4 separate regions of the Homo sapiens genome follow, and regions 1, 3 and 4 are each linked to region 2. Evidence: promoter capture Hi-C in 16 types of primary human blood cells and fetal thymus (Javierre and others, 2016). All regions are on one chromosome and are shown on one strand. Each heading gives the region's core, a stretch centred on a gene start or on the middle of the fragment in contact. The rest is flanking DNA. Distances are from core to core; before and after follow the strand shown. Region 1 has its middle 20 kb from the start of LINC01727. Region 2 holds the start of ZNF133 (zinc finger protein 133). Region 3 has its middle 2.0 kb from the start of TASP1. Region 4 holds the start of XRN2 (5'-3' exoribonuclease 2).

What was found. The method cuts DNA at HindIII sites, captures the fragments that hold promoters and counts their contacts. A CHiCAGO score of 5 or more calls a contact.
Region 1: a contact is called between a fragment that was not itself captured here and the fragment with the promoter of ZNF133 in region 2, in 1 of 17 cell types (naive CD4 T cells). The highest score is 5.0, in naive CD4 T cells.
Region 3: a contact is called between a fragment that was not itself captured here and the fragment with the promoter of ZNF133 in region 2, in 1 of 17 cell types (naive CD4 T cells). The highest score is 5.0, in naive CD4 T cells.
Region 4: the fragment with the promoter of XRN2 here is called in contact with the fragment with the promoter of ZNF133 in region 2 in 4 of 17 cell types (total B cells, monocytes, activated CD4 T cells and 1 more); the score reaches 12.6 in total B cells.

Annotation. Positions count from the first base shown.
Region 1 is chr20:21,548,904-21,552,131 of GRCh38, reverse strand. No RefSeq gene overlaps it. Among named protein-coding and RNA genes, the nearest start is that of LINC01727, 20 kb to the left of the region's middle. The HindIII fragment of the contact is 3,557 bases long and covers 1-3,228 here.
Region 2 is chr20:18,287,138-18,290,357 of GRCh38, reverse strand. ZNF133 (zinc finger protein 133) reads right to left here and starts at 1,831. Exons shown (of 7, transcript NM_001352452.2): 1 at 1,754-1,831. RefSeq lists enhancers at 1,099-1,218, 1,779-2,118, 1,224-2,129, 2,209-2,258. The HindIII fragment of the contact is 851 bases long and covers 1,378-2,228 here.
Region 3 is chr20:13,639,154-13,642,758 of GRCh38, reverse strand. No RefSeq gene overlaps it. Among named protein-coding and RNA genes, the nearest start is that of TASP1, 2.0 kb to the right of the region's middle. The HindIII fragment of the contact is 2,746 bases long and covers 1-2,703 here.
Region 4 is chr20:21,301,009-21,304,580 of GRCh38, reverse strand. It overlaps XRN2 (5'-3' exoribonuclease 2), which reads right to left and starts at 1,250. Exons shown (of 30, transcript NM_012255.5): 1 at 1,108-1,250. The coding sequence starts at 1,182. RefSeq lists an enhancer at 653-702 and a silencer at 1,423-1,552. The HindIII fragment of the contact is 6,284 bases long and covers 1-3,572 here.

The sequences.
Region 1 (3,228 bases), core at 285-2,784, 3.3 Mb before region 2:
AATTTCAAATGATGCCCTGTGTTGTCAAAAGGGCAGAAAAACCAACACTTCTCATAAACTATGAAAGAGTAAGCTCTTCCTGGAAATCAATTTGGTTAATACACATAAAAAATCTTTAAAATTTGCACTTACTTTAACCCAATAACTTTATCTTTTAAATTATTTTATTTTATTTTACTCTAAGTTCTGGGATACATGTGCTGAACATGCAGGTTTGTTACATAGGTATACATGTGCCATGGTGGTTTGCTGCACCCATCAACCCATCATCTAGGTTTTAAGCCCTGCATGCATTACATATTTGTCCTAATGCTCTCCCTCCCCTTGCCCTCACCCCCTGACAGGCCCCGGTGTGTGATGTTCCCCTCCCTGTGTCCATGTGTTCTCATTGTTCAACTCTCACTTATGAGTGAGAACACGTGGTGTTTGGTTTTCTGTTCCTGTGTTAGTTTGCTGAGGATGATGGTTTCCAGCTTCATCCATGTCCCTGCAAAGGACATGAATTCATTTTTTTATGGCTGCATAGTATTCCATGTAAACCCAATAATTTTAAAGAAATAACTTATAGGGGCTCGGCGTGGTGGATCCTGCCTATAATCCCAGCACTTTAGGAGGCCAAGGCGGGTAAATGGCTTGAGCCCAGGAGTTTGAGACAAGCCTGGGCAACATGGCACAACCACATCTACAAAAAATGCAAAAATTAGCTTGGCATGGTTGCATGCCCCTACTGTAGTCCAGCTACTTGCGGGTGCTGAGAGAAGAGAATCACTTGAGCCCAGGAGGTTGAGGCTTCGGTGAGCTATGATTGTGCCACTGCACTCCAGCCTGGGTGACAGAATAAGACCCTGTCACAGAAAAAAAAAAAAAAAAGAAAGAAAGAAAAGAAAAAGAAAGAAAGAACTTGTAGGAATTTACAGTGAGAAAATTATCAATGGATTTATATCTCTGCCACCAAGCACAGTGCATGGCACACAGAGGTGCTCAGTAAATGTTTGCACAATGAATATTATTTACAAATAATATAAATTTTATATATGTAACTTACAACTTCTAATAGCTGTGTTAGAAGTTGAAAATGGTTTGCAAAGGAGGAACATCTACTATCTTTACTTAGCAAATATTATTTATCCAAAGAAAAGCAGCTGCATGATGCATCACAGTTTTGTTTTCTTGTGTTGTTTTTTGAGACAGGGTCTCTCAGTGTTGCCTGGGTTGGCCTCAAACTCCTGGACTCAAGCAATCCTCCAGCCTCAGTCTCCCACGTAGCTGAGTACATCACAGTTTTCAAAGCAGTTTCATATGCATCACTTCCTTGGCCCTCACAGCAACAATGAGGATATTACCAGCCCATTTTATAGATGAGGAAACTAAGGCCTCGGAGAGATTAAGTAAATTGTGAAAGACATTTGAAAATGAAGAGTCCTTGAAACAACGTGTTCTTTCAGTCCAAGCTCCCCAGCTTCCCGACAGCCCGGGTGGTAGGTTTTCTCCACCTCTTCCTTAAGTCAGTTCCAGCTCTCCAGATTAAACTAGCAAGCACCTAATTTCCATTCTGACTCCCAGCCATTGTCTCTTCTTTGCTTCTTGTGGAAATGATGTAGGAGTTGCTCCCTTGAGCACTCACTGTAGCTTTAGATGTGCTTCCTCTCTGCAGCATGAGCTACTCGGCCTTACTATTCCCCGTACTTAATTTGAGAATATTTGTTCAATTTGAGTGTGTTTTTGACCTGCCAGGTATCTGTGAAACAAAATAACTCCTACTGATAGCTTCTTATCAAGAGTAATTTAAAACATCCATCATCTACTGCTGAATGTCAAAATAAAGGTTGAGAGAAATTCCTGTTTCCCTAAATATGTTTTCTTTTCACTCTTGTCAGCATCATTGTCAATCCTGAAATTATAGTGTGCCATGGAAGACCTCAGAAATTGAGGCTTCAGAAACTGTTACAATGAGAACATACAAATCAGCCCGTGGTTCCCAAAGGCCCTGGACATAGTCGCCCCGGCAGAGGAGCCTGGGACCAACCTGTGCCAGGATCCGGAAACAAAATGAGCACCCTGGAGAGGCAACTGTCCCTCCTTGTAATCCTGGGTGGAAGTTTATAGTATTCAATTAGTTATTCCAGAGCCTTGTTGGTGTGCAGACTATTTTCTACCGCCCTCCTGACAATGATTAAGCAGAAGGAGGGAGAAAAGGACAAATCTATATTAATAGCCCCCTCTATTTAAACAACCCTGTGATTTTCATCATGTGGAGGCTGGAGATTGTGTTTTTTCAGTTCTTTCTGTCACCAACTCAGCTACTGGATGTACCTGGGTACACACCTGCCAACAGAGACCCAGCAAGAGATGGAGGCTGGAGGGAGAGGCATGAGCTTAAAGCACCAGCCATAACAGAGAACTTACAGAAAGATAATGTCATTCAGTGTTATCTGGTAGAAAACTCCAATGTTCCTAAGATCCAGCTAAGAAGTGCTCCCATTCTCCATTCCCAAGGTTCACCCCTGGAACAGTCTGGAATTGTCTTTAGAGGAAAAGAATTCAATCACTTCAGAAAATCAGCAAATATATATTAAGCACAAACAAAATTCAAGGTATGGTATACCTGCAAATAGATTGAGATATGAGAATTTTCCCATCTTTAAGGGATTTATCATTGTAAAGGAAGTTATTAGAAGTAGGACCTGGGACGTGGATGGTAGGCATAGGCTGGCTGTTCAGAGGCCTATGCACAAGCATTCCCTGCCACAAGGGTGGAGCTCCATTTCCAGCTTGTGACTGCTGGAGAGACAGTGGTGTGTGGAGTTGGGGGGCATTATATGGATGTGTGCCCCTTTAAGAAGGTTTTGATGGGCGGGGCGTGGTAGCTCACACTTGTAATCCCAGCACTTTGGGAGGCCAAGGAGGGTAGATCACTTGAGGTCAGGAGTTCAAGACCAGCCTGGCAGACATGGTGAAACCCCGTCTCTACTAAAAATAAAAAAACTAGCCGGGCATGGTGGCAGGCGCCTGTAATCCCAGCTACTCGGGAGGCTGAGGCAGGACAATTGCTTGAACCCAGCAGGTAGAGGTTGCAGTGAGCAGAGATCACACCACTGCACTCCAGCCTGGGTGACAAAGTGAGAATCTGTCTAAAAAAAAAAAAAAGAAGGTTTTAATGACTAACTTCAGTAGCCTTGTTACCTGCCTGAGCAAGCCCACTCCAAAAATACCCTCTTGTCCCCCAGC
Region 2 (3,220 bases), core at 582-3,081:
AGAATGTTAACAACTTCACAGGACCTGACAAGCCCTGGGAATGAGCAGTCTGAACAAATACTGAAAGAAGGAATGTAGGGGAAGAATATAGGTGTAATGAATGAGAGCATCAGCTCTGAAAAATATTCCCTGTGAAAATGATCACTCTTAAAACAAGCCTAGTTTCCTGAAGGAACCAGCTGGGGCCCTGATCCCTGGATGGGACATTGTAGAACACAGACGTCAAAGCTGAGCAAAAGAAACCCACTCATGGTTCGAAATGCAAAAGGTAAGTGGCACCCACCTGAAGCTGGGCTGTCAGGAGCTCAGGAGTACCCCCTTTCCCCAGCAGGCAGTCCTCTCTGGGCAGACAGGAGCCACAGGGAGGCAGAACAAGAACAAAAAGCGTTCAAGAAAATCAAGGGAAATCCTCTCCAGCAGGGCAGTACCTCCTATTCCTTAACAGCATCAGGAATGAACCTGCCACAGAAGAAAAGGAGAAAAGAACTGCGGGCAGCTTCCTGGGAACACAGCTGGGGTACAGGTTGAAAGCACGACCTGCCCTGATATGCTGTTGACGCTGAGCATGAAGCGACCTTCTCTGTGCCTGTTATTAATGAAAGGTAATATTCACTGAACACTTAGTATACACCAGAGACTGTTACAGCCACTGTAGGAGTTTCACCTCATTCTATCCTTTCAACAACCCAATACGATAGATGCTATTATCCTCTTTAGGATAAAATCGAGGAAACTGAGGTACAGTGAAGTCAGCATCTTGCCCAAGGTGACACAGCTATAAAGTGACAGAGCCTAGAGGAAATGTGGCTGTGGAGACCGTGCTCTTACACAGTAAGGGCAGTGACGGTGAACTCTGGATTGCAAGGATTCTCTGTGTCCATTCTGAGATGAATCAAGATTGGTCATAAGGTTTTAAGTGTTGAATCTGGGTGATGGAGATCTGGTCTATAGAGTTCTATCTACTTCTGGCTGTTTGAAATTTCTCCGCAATAAAAACTTAAATGGAATGTAAAATCCCAAAGCCTGGCCACACCAGGGGCCTGGGAATCCGTAATTCTTGCGATCAATGACGGTCCCTGGGACCTTTGGAAAAAACCTGTCCTGTGCGTCCCAGCCAGACTTCCTCCTCCAACGCCCGAACCCGGGGGTGACCAACCAAAGTGAAACCCTAAGATCGCGGCAAAATGGCCACCCCAGATCCAGTCTAACCTTGGCTTGTTTGGTCAAGCCAGACCGCTCCTCATTCCACTCCAGCAAAGCCGAAGAATAGTGTGGCCCCAAGAGACTAGCCCTCAACCGACCAATGCCTCGGGGACACATGGCCCCAGGGATGGTTCCCATTCCACCACCTGGGAAATACCATTCCCCCAAAAAGCTTATTTATTCAACTCCCCCAAAACCGGGGACTTATGGCATCAGCGACTCCCTTTCCCAATACCCGACTTCAGCCAAAGCCGAACCTGTCCCCACCCACAAGAACCCTAGGAGAGAGAGCCCGATCCCCCACTCATCACCATCCAGTTTCACGGATGGGCTTCACCCAACTCCCCTGGAGATGCACGCCCACACCCCCAAAATAAGACATCTGGGAGAGGACGGCCTGCGCCACGCCAGCGCGTTCCCACCACAATCACCACCCCCGCGCCACCCGCACGGTCCCCAAATTCAGCCCATAGTCCAGCCTTTCGGGACCTTCCTTTTCGCGCAGAAAAGGGTACGGCTGCGGCAAGGGTCCCGCGGGAGCCTCACTCACCAGCGCCACCAAAGAACAAGGGGTCGCTCCAGCCACCAGCTGGGGAGCTCCTCCAGCGGGGCGCCAGGACTACACTACCCCGAATCCTCGGCACAGCGCCCGGACCACACCTCCCAGGATGCTCGGCGCCACCAGGCGCGCCCTGAAGGCCGGCAGCTCCCATTGGCCTCTGACGGATCCGTTTCTGAGTAACACGCTCCGGTCACCGGAGAATGGCCACTGTGGCACCTGAATTCTCCCTCTTTTTTCTTAACCACGTGCATAAAACACGTAGGAGCTCCCGAGAAGAGTGCCTGGCCCTACTGTGACCCTCCTTCTGAGCGCCTCTGTCTCGAAAACTACACTTCCCAGTGACCCCTGGAGCGACTTCCGCACCCGGTACCGGCCCCGCCCCTTGGCGCGCGGAAATGACGTTTCGGGGCGCATCTGTTCGGCTTCTGGGGTTGGCGGAGGTGTACCGCTGGCTGACCAAGCTTGTTCAGGTGCTGGTTTGTGTTGCAGCGGCCTGTGGTCTCCCTGGCTCCAGCCGCCTGCTTGGAAAGTCACGCCCCATATTCCTAAACACCGGGCGAACGTCATGTCGTATACCCTTTAGCTCCATTTAAAGCCTTGAAAAGGCCGAGCAGTCTGCCTGAAGTCTCACATCCCGTACGAGGTAGACCCGATTCTGAGCCCACGCCCTCAACCCGAATACACCTTTTCCGGTGCCCTGAGACCTTTTTCTTCTTTTTGAAATCCACGAAGTTATTGTTAAACTCTCATCTCCTGAGAAGCAGAAGCCTCAGTCTCGGGCCAGAGCTTGGCCTGCCGTCGGCTTGGATCTCTAGGTCTTTGTCCGGGATCCTGGTTGAGAACAAGATTGCGCTGGTGCCATCTGGGACGCCCCATCTGGGGAGCTCGAGGGGAAGGCCCACGTCACTCTTGAGAGGGCTTTTCCACCCGTGCACCCTCTCACTGCCCTTCACCTTCCTCAGATAGGCTTTCTGAAACTTTGTCATTCTCTTGGAAGACCAAGAAAATGACCACTGTCTGAAGGGCCAGGGAGATGAGAATTTCCTAAAATTCTTTTGTAGCTCTCAGAGGGTGAATCCATTCCCTTCTGGTACCCCGAGGCTACATTATTTATTGTGAATTCAGTTCAGTCCTGGCTCCGGAGACATGTCCAGTGTCAATTGGATTCATCCCTCAACATCATTCTCTGCCTCATGAGTCAGTCATCACCAAGAAATTAGTTGTTAATACACATAAAGGTTCAGAACAACAATGCAGGGATGCCTGTGTTCAAGTGTTCACTTGTGCTGGCTGTACAATAAAGACACAGATGGCTGACATCTCTTAAGCCTGGAAATGAAGACTTACAGGATGAGGTGCTGCCTGAGGAATTAGGCAAGATGAGGAGTTGGAAGAACACAGACGAGTAAGGAAGAGTGTAGGAAGTGTGAACAGAATCTCAGGGTCTGAGCCACT
Region 3 (3,605 bases), core at 81-2,580, 4.6 Mb after region 2:
CTAAGAGATTGCAGAGAAAGGTGTTAAATCACAAACTGGTCAGACAGTTTGTTGTGCAGGAAGAATATTTATATTGCCCTATGAATGGGGGATGACAACATAGCTGGCCAGATAATTGACAGACAACAAGGATGAAACCAGAGATGGCAGGTGGGCCACCTTTCATCTTACCAGTCTTCGTCAGGGCTCCGAAGACAATGTGTTGTCATCAGGGCTTGACATGGGAGTCAAGTAATCTCTGGATTATTTGTCTTGCTCAAAATTTTATATATTAAAGAAGATAAAAGGAATTTGTTGGAAGGATAGGGAGTACCTAAGATAATTGAAAGAAAAACTAAGGAAGCAGGTTTTGGAAAAATACAAGCTCTGGAGCAGTAACAGGGAACTCTGTAACCTTGGTTGAATAAACAACTGCTTTTACTCTTTGCATTATTGCTGTCAATTTTCAAATTCCAGGCAAGAAGCAGCTTTAGCTTAGCATGGGTCAGTTGATCATCCCACGGAGCATCCTGATGGACAGTCCCACTTACGCTGGGTGCAAGTGGTGAAGGGCAGTCCCTGGAAGTGAAGTGGGGTGCTGTTAGGAGAAATAAGAAGGAATTCATGCTGGGCAGGCGAAACAACTGTTGTCTACCATAGGACTGCTTGAAGGGTTGTCGCAGTCCATCTATAATTGAAACTTTCTTTTTTCCACGTGGTAGGCAAAATTCTAAGATGACCTGCAAGATTTCTACCCCTGGTGCACAGACCCTGTATGATCCTCTCCCCTGGAGTGTGGATGGAAGCTGAGAATATGATGGCCATCCCTCCTGAAACTTGACGACGAATCATTGACTCTGTGTTCATCAAAGGAGAGATTATCCTGGGGGACCTGACCTAATCAGTTGAGTCCTTTCAAGGTGGAAAAGTCAGAGAGGACTGCTCCTCCTGACCTTGAAGAAGACAAAAGTGGCCAGCTCTACAGCTGCAAGGATTTGAATTCTGCCAATCACCTGAATGAGCTTGGAGAATCGCTCTGGGCATCCGATGAGATGGCAGCTCTGACTGACACCTTGATTTCAGCCTTCTGAGATCTGAGCAGAGACCTGGACACCTGATCCACAGAAACGGAAATATTACATTTGTGTTGTCTTAAGCAGGTGAATTGGTGTTAACTTGCGGCACAACAATTGAAAACTATCACTATTGTTCTGCTACATTTCTGACACATGTGTTAAAGCAATAGTTTTCCAGGAATACAAAACAAAGGGAGACCCCCAGGGAACCAGGACAGAGGGGGCTTACTTAGAGTACAAAGATCAAGATGCAGCAGACATGATTATTTGAGATAAAGGAAGTAATTCCTCAGCTTGCTGCTTTTCCGGGTTTGGGAGAGGTGGGAACAGGAAGAGGGAGGCAACCAGATTTTTTCTGAAGGAGATTTACTAGTATAGACTTTCCTTTCAAATTTAACATGTTGAGTTAATCAAATAGATATTACAACTGTTCGTTATTAATATTTCAAAGGATCTCATTGTTACTGTACCCAATGCAGGTTAAAAATGTTAAAACTTGGGTCTGGGCTGGGCATGGTGGTTCATGCCTGTAATCCCAGCACTTTGGGAGGCCGAGATGGGTGGATCACCTAAGGTCAGGAGCTCGAGACCAGCCTGGCCAGCATGACAAAACCCCATCTTTACTAAAAAGACAAAAATTAGCCGGGCGTGGTCACGGGCACCTGTAATCCCAGCCACTGGGGAGGCTGAGGCAGGAGAATCACTTGAACCGGGGAGGCAGAGGTTGCAGTGAGCTGAGATCGCACCACTGCATTCTAGCCTGGGCAACAGAGTGAGACTCTGCCTCAATAATAATAATAAAAAAAAGGGTCCGAAGAATTTTGTTACTTTTACTTGAGCAGTATTCACCTACCAGAGGATGGCCTGTGTGGCATCTGGGTGTGATACCCAAGACAAAAGTATACAGAGCAGCACTGGGAGATGATTATTACAATGTAGTTAAATTCCAGGAAGAATGTTGCCTAAGAAATGGAAGGGAGCATGTCTATGTCTTTTTAAAACTTTAACATCTTTCTTTTATTCCTGCTGGTTCCAGTTAATATTGCTGTGTAAAAATCCACTTTAAAGGTGCAAAAGAACAACTATTTTATTATGCTGATGGATTCTGCGGGTGAGGAATTCAGAAAGGTCACAATGGGGATGGTTTATGTCTGCTTCCTAATGCCTGGGCCAAACTTTCTGGCACTATATAACAAGGGCCCCATTTTCTCCAGCTTCCAATAACATCTTCCTTAGCTCCCTTTAAGCCCTCATTGGCAGCTTCCTCAAGTCCTTTTAGACTCTTGTTAATACTTTGGATCCCTTCCTGCTCTTGCTGCTTCACCTAGTTCCAAAGCCAGTGCCACACGTTTTACTTTTATGATGTTATTATGTTATGTTTTGTTATAATATCCATCCTACTTCTAGGTAACAAAATCGGTTTCAGTTACTATTGCTATGTAATAAACTGTTATTCTTACTATGTAATAAACTTCTTCCCCTTGCCCCTCCCTAAGAAGTCAGTGGTAGAAGAGAAAGAAAAAAAGCCCCAAGTTACATAATAAAACCACATAGGTTATATTTATAATAATGGTATCAGTGGTTCTCGAACTTTTTGGTTTCAGCATACCTTTATACTCCCCAAAATAGTAGAGAACACTCCAAAGCTTTTGTTTCTGTGGGTTACATCTATTAATATTTACTATATTAAAAATTGAATACAAAGCTGAAATGTGGCTGGGTGCGGTGGCTCACGCCAGTAATCCCAGAACTTTGGGAGGCCAAGGCAGTAGGATCACCTGAGGTCAGGAGTTCGAGACCAGCATGGCAAACATGGTGAAAACCCGTCTCTACTAAAAATACAAAAAATTAGTCGGGTGTGTATCGAGCGCCTGTAATCCCAGCTACTCAGGAGTCTGAGGCAGGAGAATCGCTTGAGCCCGGGAGGCAGAGGTTGCAGTGAGCCGAGATCGTGCCATTGCACTCCAGCCTGGTTGACAGAGTGAAACTCCATCTCCAAAAAAAAAAGAAAAAAACCAACAAAAAACTGAAATGTTAAAAAGTTATTTAAAATAACAATAATAAACCATTATGTGTTAATATAATTAAGACATTTTAATGAAGAATAAATATTTTCCAAAAACAAAAAAATGTGGTAAGAAAAGTGTTATCTTTTGCATTAGTGTAAATTCCTCTATAGCTGGCTTAAAGAAGCCAGTTAGATTCTCATTTCTGCCTTTACATTCAGTTCGACGTGATGTTTTGGTGGAAGTATAAGGAAAATCCATCAGTCATGGGTCATCAAAACCCATGACTGGGTTTCGGTCTTACATCCTAGCCGATAAAAGACCGCCTACACTCCTTCCCCCTGGGCAAGGCTCGTGCCCCAACTCCTACAAGCAATGCAGGCTGAACCTTAGTTTTCCCTACCGTCTAACAGTGCTCTAAGGATTGAAAGAAAGTAACTCTTAAGCGACACCTAGATAAAATGATGGTCAGTTTAATTTCATTTCTCATCACAGTATTAGTCAATCAACCACTCAGATATAATCACATCCTGCGGGCTTATTC
Region 4 (3,572 bases), core at 1-2,500, 3.0 Mb before region 2:
GTTAAAGGTGGAGAAATGGGATGAGAAGGGGTAGAGCAAGAACTGTTGCTTTTTGTTTAACCCACGTGCAAGTAAAGTTCAATAAAGTTCGATTAAAATTTTACAAAGGAAACAAGTATTCAATTTAGCAGTTGCTTTTTGAAAAAAACAAGAAATAGTGGGAATGTCACTAAGACAAGGCTTTTGGTTCCTCCTTGGATAGAAGCCAAGAAAGTTAAAAAAAAAAAAAAAAGCAGAAATAAGTTCACAGTGACAGGCAAGCACTGCCTTCAAAAACTAAGGAGTGAGGTACGCGTGATGTGCCTCTGAACGTTTCCAATCCAGAAATTCTAATTAAGAGCACAAAATCGAATCCGCATGGAATGACGAAAACAATAAAAACAAAACTCAATAATGGCCAAAAATCTACTTACGTATTAACTAACAACAAAAATTGTACTGCTCAAGTACATCCAGTAATCTTGAAATTTTCAACAAGCACCCACCCCGTTCAGTAGTCAGGGCACACAGAGAAGGGTAACTTCTCAGAATTCTATAGCGCTCATCCTGGACCTGACATACTGCTTTCAGCGTCCAATCTAACCAGAACAACAAATGGTCCTGAACACTAGGAGAAAACCTTTCCGGCACAATTGGTAAACAACGAAAAGGTCGCCGCCAGGGATTCCTTTACAAGGTTGTCAAAAAGCTGGCCTCCGAATCCGTGCATCCATAACCCGCTAGCTCAGCTGACCTGGCATGCATTGCTCAACAACAGCCTCTGAACCTCTTCCGAGACCCAAAATGCGCGGTCTGGAGAGGAAACAAAGCAGTGGGCGGGGCCTTCCGGTGCCGGGAAAAAGCGAGTAGGGGAGGAGCGACCCTCCTGCGAGTTCGGAACCCTATAGGCCCTTGCCCCGCCGAGGGTCCTGAATTCCTCGCCCCCGGGGTGCTGAATCCCACAGCCCGCGTCCCATCGCGTGTGGGGCTGCGACTGCTCGCGAGGCTGGCAGCAGGGCGCGAGCTCCGGCAAGGCTCCCCGGGGGCAGGCGGCGGAGCCCATGGGCCGCGGCCTAGACGTGCCGGGGGCCCGGGCTCGAGTGTGGCGGCCGCCTGGCGCCTCCTCACCTTCTCTTCCACGCAGTTGACTATGATGGACGGGTACTTGCGGCTGAGCCAGCGGAAGAACGCCGGGACTCCCATAGCGGCACACGGCTGGAGGCGGCGGCCGACCGGCTGACGAGCGTAACCAAAGAGACGGGAGCAGCGGCAGAGGGCACCAGCACTTCCTCCCACGTGCGCGCTGGAGAACGGAAGTGACGTCACGGCGCCGCCGCCGGGGAAGCTGGGAAGGAGGCTTCGCTGGATGAGGGAGCGGCGGAAAAGGGCCTTGCCGGGCTGTTTGTGGGAGGCGGAGTCCGGCGGCGGACCGGGTGGCGAAGGCTGCAGCTCGCCCTCGGTGGTCCCAGCCCCGGAGCGCGAGGCCGAGCGCGTCTGAGTTGCGGGGGCTCACGGGCGACTGCTCTGCCGGGGCTCCGCCGGGATCTCCCAGCCCCAGCCCTCCGGCTCCCTGGGCACAGAATCGCTGCGCTCTGCATGCCCGGGAGGAGGTCTCCCTTGCCCGTTTGGTCACCTCTTGTTTGGAAGAAAATGTCTTTTTTTGCCTCTATGCTCACCCGTCTCAATCTAGGGTAGAATCGAAGCATCCAAACTTACTCGTTACTTCCATTTCCTGGTTTCTCCTAGTTTTGTGCTGCAGTACGTACCTGGACTATCAAAAGGAGCATTTTAAAGCATTTTACAGTAATAATGGCTGCTTTGCACCAATAATTTGATTGTTATGCAAATAAATAATTATGATAGTTACCGAATGGAATCTAGCCGGTATTTAGCATCCAATACAATCTTCCAGCTACAATTACGGGTATAAAATAGTTGCTAATATGATTTTCCAGCATTTACTGAGCCTTTACAGTGTACCAAGACATTGACTAAGGGATTGTCCTATGTAATCTTCACTTGAACCTTGTGAGGGTACTGTTAGCACCCTCGTGTAAATGATAAGAAAGCCAAGTTACAGAGGAGTTAAGTCACTTATGCACATAGCTTCTGTTTCAGTTCAAGCAAAGGTCATTTTTAATCCATCCTTGTTCTAACACGATACTTTTATCTTTTGTTTTCTGGTGGTCCCAAACGAATTTTTTCCATATGAAAGGAGAGGTCTGGAAGAGGAGGTATATTTGTCCGTTTGCTCAAGCCTGGAAGTCTCCCTGAATCCCCTCTTGGTTTGACACACATCACACACGATGCTAAATGCTCACCTCATGAGGCCTCTGTGAAAGTATTTCGCCGAGTTACCTCACAGGCAGTATTTATTGCCCCCTCCTCTGTGGTCTGATGACTACTTTGTTTAAACTACTAGTGTGGAAATTAGAGAAATAGTCATCCCGTGTTTTACTTAAGGATAGCCAAAACTATTCCAAAGTATTATGTCTATGGTGAAATTCCTCCTTTTACCTGGAAGCAGCCCCTCTGGTTTCCCTGGGAGGTGCTGTTATAGGAACATGTACACCATAGGCAGTTCAGGGATAGACAGCTGGCCAAGTTGAGCCATTTAGAATCCTTAACCAGCATTTTGGCGGGTTGGGAGGGTTTATTGTTTTGTTTTTGTTTTTTCAGACGGAGTCTCAGTCATCCAGGCTGGAGTGCAGTGGCAAGATCCAGGCTCACTGCAACCTCCACCTCCCGGGTTCAAGCGATTCTCCTGCCTCAGCCTCCCGAGTAGCTGGGATTAGAGGCGCCTGCCATGACACCCCGCTGATTTTTGTGTTTTTAGTTGAGACAGGGTTTCACCATGTTGGCCAGGCTGGTCTCGAACTCCTAACCTCAGGTGATCTGCCCACCTCGGCCTTCCAGAGTGCTGGGATTACAGGTGTGAGCCACTGCACCCAGCCTTACCAGCATTTTTGAGCTTTGAACCATAAGAAATTTAAGACTGCATCTTTCCAGTGCGTGAACGCTAAAAGATAAGAATTGGGACTTGTTGCCAGTAGGCAATGAGAGAAGCAGGGTTAATTCCCTGGTTCCAGTTAAATCCCTCTCTTCCTGCAGTTTGATTAAGTCTGTCCTTTGATTCTGTGAGCCAAATTTTTTTTTTTTTTTTTTTTTAAGACAGAGTCTCACTCTGTTGCCAGGCTGGAGTGCAGTGGCACCATCTCGGTTCACTGCAACCTCCACCTCCCAGGTTCAAGCGATTCTCCTGCCTCAGCCTCCCAAGTAGCCGGGACTACCAATGTGCGCCACCACGCCCGGCTAATTTTTGTATTTTTAGTAGAGATGGGGTTTTACCATGTTGGCCAGGATGGTCTCAATCTCTTGACCTTGTGATCCGCCCGCCTTGGCCTCCCAAAGTGCTGGGATTCCAGGTGTGAGCCACCACTCCCAGCCAAAAGTTTCCTTTTGCCCTAAGCTGGCTTGGGCTAAATTCTTATCCCTTACAAAGGAAAGAGTCCAGTAACAAAATTTGGGGAGTGCAAGCTAATTCACCTGGGTGGTGAAATTGGTTTGCATAGAAGTACTAAAATTGGAGTTTT